Regions from separate parts of the Homo sapiens genome. Here regions 2, 3 and 4 are each linked to region 1. The links are contacts of gene promoters, found by promoter capture Hi-C in blood cells and fetal thymus (Javierre and others, 2016). All regions are on one chromosome and are shown on one strand. The core of a region is centred on a gene start or on the middle of the fragment in contact, and the rest is flanking DNA. Distances in the headings are between cores, read along the strand shown.

Region 1 (3,120 bases), core at 210-2,709:
TGCACGAGAGCGGGTCGCGTAGAAGAACTGCGGCAATGGGACCCCCAGCGCAGCCCCAGGCGCCCTGTTTTCGAGGCTGACATCCCAAGATCCTGTCCTGGTTAGGCACAGCACCGCGCCCGTTGGAGTACTTCTCTGTGACTCTCCCCTGTCCACTGCACTGTGTCCACCCTCCTGGTGAAGGAGGAGACGGCTGTTGGACATGCCAGTCCCAACCTGGCCACTTTGGCCATTTTCAGAGTGCGTGTGTTGGGGTGGGGTTGAGGGAGAAGGATGAAGGATGACCCCCAACCCCAACAGGAGAATTCAAAAATCAGAGAGCGATGAAGGTGAACGCGCTCCCCTCCCCCGCTGTCGCTGGGAAGCCCCACTCTGCCCAGGTCTGGTTCCTGGAGCATCAGCGCCCCCTTTCCCTCGCCGGCAGGATCGTTTCCTCCCGACACTGGCCTCTCGCCTTGGGCGCAGGGTTTGGGGCTCAGCTGTCAATTCCAAGGAATTCGTAGGGTTCGACCCACGCGGCGGGAGGGAACGGAGGGAGAATCAAAAGGCATCCTCCCCCACGACGCGGAGGCGGTGGTACGATTCCTCAAACGCCCAAGCTTGAGCTTTTTTTGTATGCGAGATAGAAGCCAGGGCAACCTCGCCCAGATAACCCCGAAAACAAAGGCACGACCAGATAAGTGACTTCAAGGGAGTAAAGGTCGTTCTATCGGAGAACGTTCCAAACCTACACAGACCCTCTTTTCTTTGTACCGTATTTCAGACCACCCAGTCTTGTACACACACACACACCACACAAAACAAAAACCCATCATTGTCATATTGGACTCAACAGTTTGCCCAATCCTATTAAATAACTAGCAACTATATAGCCCTTCCCCTAAAAGACCCCTAGTTCAAAACGGCGCAACCGCTTGGAGATTTCTCCCGAGGGCCCTATTTCTCGTTGGGCCGAGTTTGTAGAAGGGACATTTCTTGATTCTAGATTTATATTCTCTCTGGGTATTAAATGCAATTTTGTATGTTCCTTTTCTTCTTTTCAAAGAGAATACAAAACTATAGCAGTCTAAGAAAATAACCCCAAAATGGGGAGGCAAACTCATTCTGGAAATGATGGGCTGTTTGTAGTTTCACAAAACCTCTTTCCCGGCAGAGCACCAACACCTCCCCCTTCCACCACCCCCCATCCCATCTGGTCTGCTTCTCCCCGCCCCCCAGTTGTTGTCGAAGTCTGGGGGTTGGGACTGGACCCCCTGATTGCGTAAGAGCAAAAAGCGAAGGCGCAATCTGGACACTGGGAGATTCGGAGCGCAGGGAGTTTGAGAGAAACTTTTATTTTGAAGAGACCAAGGTTGAGGGGGGGCTTATTTCCTGACAGCTATTTACTTAGAGCAAATGATTAGTTTTAGAAGGATGGACTATAACATTGAATCAATTACAAAACGCGGTTTTTGAGCCCATTACTGTTGGAGCTACAGGGAGAGAAACAGAGGAGGAGACTGCAAGAGATCATTGGAGGCCGTGGGCACGCTCTTTACTCCATGTGTGGGACATTCATTGCGGAATAACATCGGAGGAGAAGGTAAGGGAAAAGAAAAAATGATTTTTTGTTTATAAGGGAAGTCCCTGATCAGACTCTGGGACTGGAGAAAGCGAAGTAACTTCAAACTTTGGGCGACAAGAAAAAAAAAAAGGAGCTGGATTCCAGTTGTGTGTCCAGAGAGTAATTTTTTTTTTTCGGAATAAACTTCACTTGGGGACGGGTGGGAGATAACCATAGAGTTAGAAAGTCTAGGTATTTTTTTTAAACACACATTTTCCAGACCTATTTTTAAAAACAATGTTTTTCTAACAACCCTATGGCCTCCCAAAGAAATTGTTTAGGCTTACATTTTTGAGGTTTCTTTTGGGAGTGGGGGTGGTGTTCGTGAATACTGGGCCGAACACCAAGGAACTGGGGGTGGAGGCAGAGGTGTTTGCCCTCTTCTTGGCAGTGGGTCCTGGAAGGCGACAGGTTTTAAATGAGTGTTTTCATTCCTCGCCTGCGGTTTGGCGGGACAGCGCTGCAGCCCATGGTGTGGAGCGCGGCTGGGGGACCAGGGGGAGGTGGGGAGAGGGGAGCGTGGAGGGGAGCGTGGAGGGGGGCGCGCGAAGGGGTTGCGGGGCGCAGGAGGCGGGCTGGGCTCGGCTGGAGACCGGACCTCGGTGTTGGCCTACAGCACAGGGAGCCGGCCGAATGCGCGTGATTACTGGACGGCGCTGCTCTGGGAGAGAGTCGGGGCCAGATTTGGCGCGGCGGTGAGGCGGCTGCGGGACAAGCAGAGGCGCGCGGGCGTGGGCAAGGGTTTGGGGCGCTCTGGAGCGGTTTGTTGGGTCAGTGAGGTGCCAGGGAGAGCGGGTGCCTGCCGGGCAGTGTGCTCGGGTTGCACGCCCTAGCGCGGGGGCGACAGCGGCGGCGCGGGCGGGCGGTCTGGAATAATGACAAACACATTTGGCCCTGAGTGAAGAAGTCGTCGTCGCCTCGCATTCCAGCAACTGGGATTTGAGGAATTTCGAACCGCACACCAAGGGGCCCTCATTGTGCTCCGTGGCCCCCGCCCCCGCCTGTCTTCCCGCGCCCCCTCCTCGGTGGAATCATTTCTGCATTGCCCGGGGGCTCTGCTTTCGCTCAGTTCTGGCCGCAGGCAGGAAGAGAGGAAAGGTCTCCAGGAAGGTGCCGAACTTCTTGTGAGGAAGTTAGGGACGACTTGGAACTGGGGAAACTTGTTTGCAGGTAAGACAGAAAGGTGGGAGGTAAACCATATTCTCCCTCCGGGCACCCGAGCCCTGGACACCCCCTACCCGGCACCCTTCTCCGCGCGGGGGTGCGTGGCACTTGCCGTCTGAGCTCGCCCAGCGCTGCTCGGTCCTCTCTAGTTGGCCTTTTTTCCATTCCTCTCCCTGCCGGCTTCAGAGCCGTCTGTGCGTACTTCTCCTTCCTCTGCTGTCTACCCCCATGGAAACCAGATTTACACACGAAATTAACTCCGCCCGGCTGCGCCCAGGGAGCGGGCGGCGTCCATTTGGCATTGAATATGTGGGATCAGCTGTTCTATTCCGGGAGGGTGTCGGCCAGGTCGG
Region 2 (3,391 bases), core at 319-2,818, 330 kb before region 1:
AGATTTTCTGTAAGCTGGCAGCAAGCTCATTGAACTCACCGGAACGGATGCATGGCAGTCCCCAGTCTTTATGATCTGCCTTAATTGTGACTACAGTCTTCTCCCCTCATCCATAGTTTCTTTTTCCGAGGCTTCTGTTACCAATGGTCAACAACAGTCCAAAAATATTAAATGGAAAAATCCAGAACTAAAAAATTTATGTTTTTAATTGCTTGCCATTCTGAGAGAAGTGTGATGAAATCTCACGCTGTCCCAGTCTGTTCCACCTGGGAAATGAATCATCCTTTTGTTTAGTATATCCATGTTGTATGTGCTGCCTTCCCCATACAGTGTGGTTATATAAGAAAAAACACAATGAGGCCAGGTGTAGTGGGTCACACCTGTAATCCAGCACTTTGGGAGGCCAAGGCAGGAAGACTGCTTAAGTCCAGAAATTCAAGACCAGCCTAGGCAACATATGAAGATCCTGTCTCTACAAAAAATTAACAAAATTAGCCTGATGTGGCAGTACACACCTGTAGTCTCAGCTACTCAGAAGGCTGAAGTAGGAGGATCGCTTGAGTCCGGGAGGTTGAGGCTACAATGAGTTGCGATAGTGCCACTGTACTCCAACCTGGGTAACAGAGCGAGACTCTATCTTAAACAGAAGGAGGGAAGGAAGGAAGAAAGGAAGGAGGGAGGGAAGGAGGGGGGGGAAGGGAGGGGAGGGGAGAGAGAGAGAAAGAGAGAAAGAAAGAAAAAAGAAAAGAAAGAAAGGAAAGAGAAAGAAAGAAAGAAAGAAAGAAAGAAAGAAAGAAAAAAGAAAAGAAAGAAAGAAAGGAAAGAAAGAGGGAGAAAGAAAGAGTTTACATAGGGTTTGGTCTTGCCCAAGCTTGCAGGCATCCACTGGTGGTCTTGGACTGGATCCCCCATGGATAAGAGGGCACTACTGTATTGATACATTTTGCATGTTTCACAGCAGAAAAGCAAATGTGTTTGATTATGGGATGCAGCCCCAAACTCTGTGGGGGTGTTATATAACTTAGTGATACTCACCATTTGAGATTCCTAAATTCTGAATTGTCAAAACACTTGGCCCCGATGGGCTTCAGATAAGGTGTTTGGGATGTGTATCTGTTTGTATCAGGCATTGAGGTGCTGAGAATACTGTAGTTGAATAAAACCATCAAGGCCTTTACTGTCTTGGAATTGACTTTTCAGCTAACAAGACAATAACAAGGAAGCAAATACGATAATTTCTGAAAGAGATAAGTGTTCTGAAGAAATGAAATCAGGAGAATGGAATAGAGATATGATGGATATTAGAGAAATCCTTGCTAAGAAGACATAAATAAAGAAAACGTAACAACCTGGTGAAGAGATTATTTCAAGGCACTTTCACTCATTCATTCATGCCCATTCCATTCCTACCTCAGGACCTTTATACCTGCTGTCTCTTTTACCTGGAAGAAGCAAATTATGTAACCTTCTCGAAACTCATTTTGCTTAAGATTGCTCATGTCTGTAAAGTGTCAGGGCTGGAACAAAAATCAAAGCTCTATGACACAAAGTTAGATTTGTGGGGTCATGAGGGAAACACCCACCTTAAGAGCAGGTTTGGAGGATTAGATAGAAGTTCTCTATGAACTTGACCACAATAGCTGATATCACAGCACAGTTTCTCCTCTCTCAGTAATAAAGACTCAGATCAAGGCAGCATCTCTCTGAGCAAGGAATGAGGATCCTTCTATAGAAAAGCTGGGACCTGGCTAGTGTGTCTACTGAACTGCTCTTTCAAAGTTCTGCACTCCCTCCACACGGGGCTTGAGTTTCCATAGACAAAAAAACATAACATGGTCACCAAAGAGAACCTTCAGCATTGTTTCTCCAGCAACTGAGACTCCAGTGAAAAGTACACCTTCCTGGGAACCAGCACCCAACCTATCCTGGACCAGGTCTCCCAGCCAATGGTGCTGCTCGTGAGTGTCCAGTCCTCAATTGTTTTGTTATTATTGTTGCTATTGTTGTTGGGTTTCCCTTGGTCTTCTTATTTAAGAGAAGGTAGAGGCTGCTCTAGGGGCAATGCTTATGCCTGGAACGAATGAGCCTTTATTGTGGACAAGCTCTGTGAGTGAAGGCCCTCCTTGAGTCTGGTGATAAAAATAGGCTATGGCCAGGCAGGATACAGAAGAGCATGACCAATCACCAAATAAAGGTTTATTGGCTTATACATTTTATTGTACCGTGACATCCCTCCTTTCAGCTTTAGATGTCAGCAGCTGGTGGCAAGCTTAATGACTGATGCATAGGGGAACAGCCATGGACACCACAGTTTGGCTCCCCCTAAAACAGTGATGCTTCATCCTTACTTGGCCAGCTTCTGGAATCCTAGTGAACACACTACAGAACATCAGGTTTGCCTGGGCAGTAACATCCAAGGGGAGCTTCCAGGTTCCTCTTGGCTGAGCAAGACTATTTTTTTCCTTATTTCAAAGAGCTGTTGTTCTGACTAAAGGAAGAGAGGATGTATATGGTAATGAGAACTGTATACATTTCTCCTAAAGTCTCCTACTTTATCTTCTTTAATTCTGCATCTGACTCTGCCTGGGTAGAAATCGTATTCAAAATTATCCCAGCCTCTTCAATCTCCTTAATAAGATCTCTCAAAATGGAACACACTGTCTCGTGTGCCTATAAGGGATGTGCAATGCCTCTTTTGTGCTTTTGTTCACTCTTATCTGATGTTCTAACACATTTTCACTTTGAGGAGTTTGGAAATGTATCTGCATAGTCATTGCCGTTTAAGTACTCCACTGATTACAAAATGCTTTCATACACATTGTCTTGAGGAAATGCTCTGAAAAATAAACTGCTAACACTCTGGTAAAGAGCCTTCTGCAGTTAGCAAAATAGTCACCAGGACCTTCTTTTTAAATGACTACACTTTCCACACTTTTTCTATCTTTGTTGACTTAAGTTCAAAGTCAAACTAGAAAATCTGTTTTGTCAGATGGAAGTTCGCTACTCACCGTTCTGAGAGGCTCCATGCACAGCTCATTGTGTTACCCCACTGCACAGAATCTACTCTTCTAGAGAGACACTGGCAGCTTTGTGCTTTGCATTTATTTATTCAATGCTGCAGTGGCTTAAGCCAGTTTATGGAAAATATCTCTAAACACTGAGACCTCAGGGCTAGGAGGAATTCCTAGACGAGCTCTAAATCAGTAGTTATGTTTGGCAGATTCTATATTCCCACGGAAAGGCCAACTAAACAGTCATTACGCTTTATAGGCGTGCCTGTGTGTCCTTCGTTATTTTGGAAGTATCAAGCAGGGCCTAGAAGCATGGTATAGTTAGTGCCAGCACATAGTGGTGGCCTGCAGTCCAACCATGCTGATTGATTTGATGTTTA
Region 3 (3,564 bases), core at 957-3,456, 280 kb before region 1:
AATCAGCCATCCCAGGACTCGTTAACACCAAGTGATCTGTAACTTTAATTCATGTCAATCTGGTTATGTACTTGAAAATTGCCAGGATATTTTTGAATTATCAGTATCATTAAAGCTCAGACACATGTGGATAATGAACAATCCTTCCCCTTCACCTATAAAAATCCAAAGCTGACATTGAATTTATGCTATTTAACATAAAATTTCTTGGCATTTTTTAAACAAACTGTATAAGGACTGAATTACTGCACAAAGTATTGCCTGCTTTTCGAAGACTGAGACCACATGATTTAAATGTAACAATTTTTTTTTTTTTGAGATGGAGTCTTACTCTGTCGCCCATGCTGGAGTGCAGTGGTGTGATCTCAGCTCACTGCAACCTTGGCCTCCAGGGTTCAAGCAATTCTTCTGCCTCAGACTCCTGAGTAGCTGGGATTACAGGTGCACACCACTATACCCAGCTAATTTTTGTATTTTTAGTAGAGACTAGGTTTCACCAAGTTGGCCACACTGGTCTCGAACTCCCAACTTCAAGTGATCCACCTGCCTCAGCCTCCCAAAATGCTGGGAATACAGGCGTGAGACACCATGCCCGCCTATAACAATTTTCTACACAGCCATGGTGTGTGTGTGTGTGTGTGTGTGTGTGTGTGTGTGTATAGGTTTTCATCCATGGTTTCTGGATCATAACCCCCATAGTCTTTTGTTATAATGTTGGGGTGCTGTAGGCCTCAGCAGCAGGTCTCAGGAAACAGAATCTCTCTCTCTGACCTTCCCCTGTCCTCCTTTCATCTGCCTAAGGCAGGACTCGAAACTGATTGTAGGTCAGAAGCCCCTCATTCCAGAGGGGTCCAGCCCCATACCCTAGAGGAAGGAAGGCTGCACAGAGAGGCCAAGAAAAGCCTAAACACACAGGCCTTGCTGGGTTTAGATTATGTGCTTTTTGTCCAATCACATTTCTACATGGTTGTCTATCATGCCTATGTAATGCAGTCTCCATAAAGACCCAGGAGGACAGGGTTTGGAAAGCTTCAGGATAGTGGAACTCAGGAGGTTCCTGGAGGGTGGGGGCCTCTGGTGGGGGGTGAAAGCTCTGTGGCCCTTTCCCCATACCTTACCCTATGCATCTCTTCATCTGTATCCTTTGTAATATTCATTATAATAAACCAGTAAACATGTTTCCCTGGGTTCTGTGAGCCACTCCAGCAAATTAATCAAACCCAAAGAGGGAATCGTGAGAACCTCAACTTGAAGCCAGTCAGTCAGAAGTTCTGGAGGCCTGGACTTGTGACTGGGGTCTGGAGGTGGCAGAGTGGGGGCAGTTTTGGGGACTGAGCTCTCACTCTGTGGGATCTGATGCTACTTCCAGCATCAATGTCTGCTGCTTGGTGTGTGGGGAAAACCCCCCATGCCTTTGGTCACAGCTTTCTTCTGTGTTGATGGTTGTGGTGGTGGTGTGAGAGCAGAGGAGAAACAGTTTGAAGAGTTTTCCCCAAATAACTGAGGATGGTGAATACAAAAGAACTTGTATAATTTAAGGAGCCTCTCAAATGGCCTATTAAGTATTCTGTGTGATACTTTGTATTAAGAGCGATCCTCACTGAATCGTGAAATTAAAGCCTAAGTGTATCCTTAGAGAAGAACAACTATTTCCGAACCATATTATTAACGGTTTCCTTATTATATTAGTCTGGGTTCCCCTAGAAGCACATCCCAAGACAGAATGAGTACAAGTGATTGATTCAGGAAGTGATCCCAGGAAGTCAGGGAGGGGAATGGGACAGTGAGCCAGGAAAGAGCATAAGCCCAATATGGTGCACATTCATGAGAAGGAGACCACTGTGGGCAGCTGGAGTGCAGGCTAATTGGCAACTGATAACTGCTGGGTGGGTGGAGGTATCCTACCAGAGGGGTGAGGCAGCCAGTTGTATGTACTGCAATCCTCATTTGTCATTGGTGAGGACTGTCCCCTCAGTCAAAGGGGATCATGGGAATCATGGAAGAGTTGCTCCCAAAATCTACATGGAGAAGTACGTCTGTGTAGCAAAGGAGTGGACCGTGGTGGCCATGAGAAAGCTCCTCACAAACCTCCAACCTCAGAGAATATCATTGATTAAGGGCCCCAGCAGCTGCTCCCTGAAATTGATGTGCTAAGGCAGACCCTTTCCTGGAAAATGCAGGGCTCCTCTTACAGCAAATTGTGCTCAAAGCCTCTCCAGGTACCTTTACCAAACTGCCCTTAGACTGGACAGGGGTCTAGAATGCTTCTGCCCACCCTCTCTCCTTCACTGGAAGATTAGATTTGCATTGCAGTCAATGGCTCTCTCTGCCTTTTCCAGATCCCTCCTCACTTTCTCTTACATGAGCATTTTCCCTAATAAAATATTGCATATTTAATTCCATCTTGGTGTCTGCCTGTAGAGGACTCAGATTAACAAAGACAGTAAGTGTAGTGACACAGCAGCACTTTGTACATAGTATTGAATACAAATACATTAGATGGATGGATGGTGTGATGGTTAATTTTATGTGTCAATTTGACTGGGCCATGGGGTGCCCACATACTTGGTCAAATATTGCCCTGGGTGTGTCTGCGAGGGTGTTTTGGGTGAGATTAACATTTAAATCGGTAGACTGTGTAGATTACGCTCTCTAATGTGGGTGGGCCTCATCCATTCAGTTGAAGGCCTGAATAGAACAGAAAGGCTAAGAGCGAATTCTTCAGCCTGACTGCCTTCAAACTGGGACATCACCATTTTTACTGTCCTCAGACTCAAACTGAGCTATTTGCTCCTCCTTGTTCTCAAGGCTGTCAACTCACCCTGCAGGTCTTGGGACTTGGCTGCCTCCATAACCACCTGAGCCAATTCCTTATAATCTCCCTCTCTCTCTCTCTCTCATATATAATATATATTATATTATATACTAAATTATATAATGTAATATAAAGAGATTTATGAGGATGTTTATTATAATTTATACACGTAGGTGTGTGTGTATATATATATGTAAGGGCTCAATAGGCTCAGAAATCTCACTTCTTATATTCTACAAAAAAAGGGTTTGGAATCTGTTGAATCAAAACTCAGGTCCCATTTTGTGATATGAAACAGCTCATCACAAAACATTTTCACAGCTTGTTTCTAGATTTTGGGGCTTGATATTCATATGTTTGTGTAAGGGCTCAATACTTTTATATAGGCTTAGAACATAAAATATATGTTCTGTTTCTTTGGAGAACACTGACTAACATAGATGGGTAGATGGATGGATGGAAAGTTGGATGGATGGATGCATGGGTTGATGGTTGGGTGGGTTGGTGTGTGGATGGATAAATATGAGGTCATGAAGGAGGATATCTCTGTGGTTCAGGGTCATCAGGGAAAGCTTCCCTGTGGAGGAAGGACTTGAACTTGAAGAAGGACAGGAGAGAAGGAGGAGAACACTGGGGAGTGGGAGGTAGAGGAAAGAAATCATGGCCAGCAAACGCTAAGAGGAGGCAGACTCAGAGCATTTGGGGGTCAGTGAACAAACCAGTATGGTTGGATCCAAGAGTCTGTAAAT
Region 4 (3,138 bases), core at 22-2,521, 310 kb before region 1:
GGCAGATCACCTGAGGTCAGGAGTTCGAGATCAGCCTGGCCAACATGGTGAAACCCTGTCTCTACTAAAAATACAAAAATTAGCTGGGCATGGTGGTGCACGCCTATAATCCCAGCTACTTTGGAGGCTGAGGCAGGAGAATTGCATGCCATTGCACTCCAGTCTGGGTGACAGAGTAAGGATCTGTCTCCAAAAAAAAAAAAAAAAAGAAAAAGAGTTTAATTCAATGATATTTGACTCATGTTCCCCTTCTCCAACGTGGCGGTTCAGCTAACTCATTACAGTATCTACTTATTCATCCAATCAACAAATGTTTATTGAGAGACCTCTAAATGCTCAACGTCCATATCAGCTTCACTGGAACCCTGTAAAGCCTCCTAACTTTTTCAGTTTTCATGAAAATACAGTTAAGTACCAATGGGTAGTTTATTTGATCGTGTTCAAAAGATTTTGCTAAAACACTAAAATAGGCTGGGCGTGGTGGCTCACACCTGTAATCCCAGCACTTTGGGAGGCCAAGATGGGTGGGTTACTTGAGGTCAGGAGTTCGTGACCAGCCTGGCCAACATGGTGAAACCCTGTCTCTACTGAAAATACAAATATTAGCCAGGCATGGTGGTGCATGCCTGTAATCCCAGCTACTTGGGAGGCTGAAGAAGGAGAATCGCTTGAACCTGGGAGATGGAGGTTGCAGTGAGTCAAGATAGTGCCAGTGCACTCCAGCCTGGGCGACAAAGTGGGACTCTGTCTCAAAAAGAAAACACACACACTAAAATAAAGAAAAGTTTAGGCTGGGCGTGATGGCTCACGCCTGTAATCCCAACACTTAGGGAGGCCGAGGCAGGTGGATCACAAGGTCAAGAGATAGAGACCATCCTGGCCAACATGGTGAAACCCTGTCTCTACTAAAAATACAAAAATTAGCTGGGCATGGTGGCATACTTCTAAGATATTTATCCTAAGGAGACAAACTATTACAAGAAATCTTTTTTTAAATTTTTATTTCCATAGGTTTTTGGGGAACAGGTGGTATTTGGTTACAGAGATAAGTTTTTTTGTGGTGATTAGTGAGATTTTGGTGCACCCATCACCCGAGCAGTGCACACTGCACCTAATTTGTAGTCTTTTATCTCTCACCCTTTTTTTTTCTTTTCAAACTTTTGCAAAAGGTGTCCTAGTTCTTGGCAATGTTTCCCCTGGGCTCTGGTTACATCATTAACAGTTGAATCACAACTATACCCAGACAGTCACCTGGGAGAGAACTGGGAACTTCATCTGGTTTGGCGACCACTCCCTCCTCCGGCGGCAGGTATCTAGCAGCAGGATAACTGATATCGTAAAGGTGGGTTTTGATAAAGGTGGGAGTGTGCACTAGACTTGCAGAGGATCACACTTGGATTTCAACAGGATGGGGTAGAAAGATAAGAGCAATGAATTGTACTCCTTGTTTTTTTAAAAACGAACCAAAGATAGAGAGAGACACATGACAGTGTCAAAAAAAAAAACTCTCCTTTTTTATTCTAAAATCCTGTTTTCTTATTGAGTCAATTGCAGAGGTCCCTCTGTGACACTCCAGAATATAACCCCTCCCTGCCTGGAGGCCTTGCTCAGGATAACTTTTCCCGTCTGCCTGTGGCTCAGAGGTGGTTGGAGCCAGGCTGAATGGAGGGCAGGCAGGCAGCTCTGCTGATTCTTTTCCACTTGAAAGGGGGCTTGGGGACTGAGACAGCCATCATCCCTTGCCACCTCCACTGAGCCAGTCTGTTGCGGGTGGAGACTGAACTTGGACTGGCTGAGGACCTGGGTCTCCCTACACTGGCCAAACCCCACAAGCCTCTCACAGCCTGCAGCCATCCCAGCGTGTCTCTGAGCACTCTCATTCCCTCCACCCTGCCCCACACCTCCATCTTTCAGTGTCTTTGTCCTGCCATGCACCGTTCCCTCTGCTAGAAATGTCCTTCTCATCCTTTAACCCGTAATATCTGCGTATCCTTCCAGACAAAACTTCAGCCTTATCTTCTCCCAGCCATCTCTCCGAATGCCCCAGGGCAGAAGTAGCACACTTTTGTACTTCCCTCTCAGAGTGCTCAGGACACAGTCCAGTATTAAGTAATGCACACAGTGCTTCTCCCAGTAAAGTTTGAGTTCCTGGAGGGCTGGAGACATGTTTGATTTATCTTTGTCATTTCTAGGACATGAGAGGCTCTCAATAAATGTGGAATGAATTGATAACTGACTAAATAAATGACACCAGTCTGAAATTCCTAACTAAAGTTACTTAGAGATCATTTTTCCCAACCTGGTTCTCCCCTTCACTTGCTGTGTGGCCTTTGGCAAGTTACTTAACCTCTCTGTGCCTCCATTTCTTCATCTGTAAAATGCAGCTAATAGTAGAAGGATATATCTACTTTATAGGGTGGCATGAGCATCATCTGTTAGTGTAGGTAAAGTACTTAGATAAGTACCTGGCAAATAATAAGCACTCGGTAAATGTCAGAGTTTACATGCACATGCCCAGAGATGCATCTGACTCACCCCACCTCTGTCCCCACCCACACTGCTGTGAGGGTTGGCTGCTGATGGCTCTACCTGCAGCCTTTCTTTGGAGAATTACTCTCAGCCAAAGGGAGCAGCCTCACCTAAAGGGTTACTCTGTGCAGCTCATGGTCAATGACTGATGACCTACGGTACAAAAGGTTGCCCCCCTGCATCAACTTGATGACCTGGGATACAAAAGGCTGGCCCTCTGTATGGACTTGATGTCCTGGAGTACAAAAGCCTGCCCCCTGCCTTAAAGTAGCACCAACTTCTTAGGGCGAGCTGTGCTCCCAAGGTCCTCTTTGCAGCAGGCTGAAGCTAGTCTCCAACCCAGCATCCCTTCACCCTTCCCTGTCCTGCTGCCTCACTTCCTAACCCCTGAGGGCACCTCACTCAGTCGCTTGAACAGGAATACCTGTCTCAGGCTCTGACTGTAGGTAGCTTGGTTGAGACAACCACTGTCACCGTCACTATCATCAGACAGGAGGAAATGAGACCCAGAGCTGTTAACTGGTTTCTCCAAGACCCAAGGTTAGGAACACGAGTTGGAGGTAGTCAGGCATTAACTAGAAGTTCATTTGTTATTTTAGAGTAGTGCTG

What was found. Contacts are between HindIII fragments. The CHiCAGO score rates a contact against its expected background, and 5 or more counts as called.
Region 2: a contact is called between a fragment that was not itself captured here and the fragment with the promoter of PDGFRA in region 1, in 17 of 17 cell types (M2 macrophages, naive CD4 T cells, endothelial precursors and 14 more). The highest score is 17.2, in M2 macrophages.
Region 3: a fragment that was not itself captured here is called in contact with the fragment with the promoter of PDGFRA in region 1 in 1 of 17 cell types (activated CD4 T cells); the score reaches 6.0 in activated CD4 T cells.
Region 4: a fragment that was not itself captured here is called in contact with the fragment with the promoter of PDGFRA in region 1 in 17 of 17 cell types (naive CD4 T cells, total CD8 T cells, activated CD4 T cells and 14 more); the score reaches 17.5 in naive CD4 T cells.

Annotation. Positions count from the first base shown.
Region 1 is chr4:54,227,834-54,230,953 of GRCh38, forward strand. It overlaps PDGFRA (platelet derived growth factor receptor alpha), which reads left to right and starts at 1,460. Exons shown (of 23, transcript NM_006206.6): 1 at 1,460-1,582. RefSeq lists an enhancer at 1-758. The HindIII fragment of the contact is 8,996 bases long and covers 598-3,120 here.
Region 2 is chr4:53,902,694-53,906,084 of GRCh38, forward strand. The region is part of intron 1 of LOC124900702 (a long non-coding RNA gene); the gene reads left to right. Among named protein-coding and RNA genes, the nearest start is that of CHIC2, 160 kb to the right of the region's middle. The HindIII fragment of the contact is 1,398 bases long and covers 870-2,267 here.
Region 3 is chr4:53,944,956-53,948,519 of GRCh38, forward strand. No RefSeq gene overlaps it. Among named protein-coding and RNA genes, the nearest start is that of CHIC2, 120 kb to the right of the region's middle. The HindIII fragment of the contact is 2,358 bases long and covers 1,028-3,385 here.
Region 4 is chr4:53,922,865-53,926,002 of GRCh38, forward strand. No RefSeq gene overlaps it. Among named protein-coding and RNA genes, the nearest start is that of CHIC2, 140 kb to the right of the region's middle. The HindIII fragment of the contact is 7,899 bases long and covers 1-3,138 here.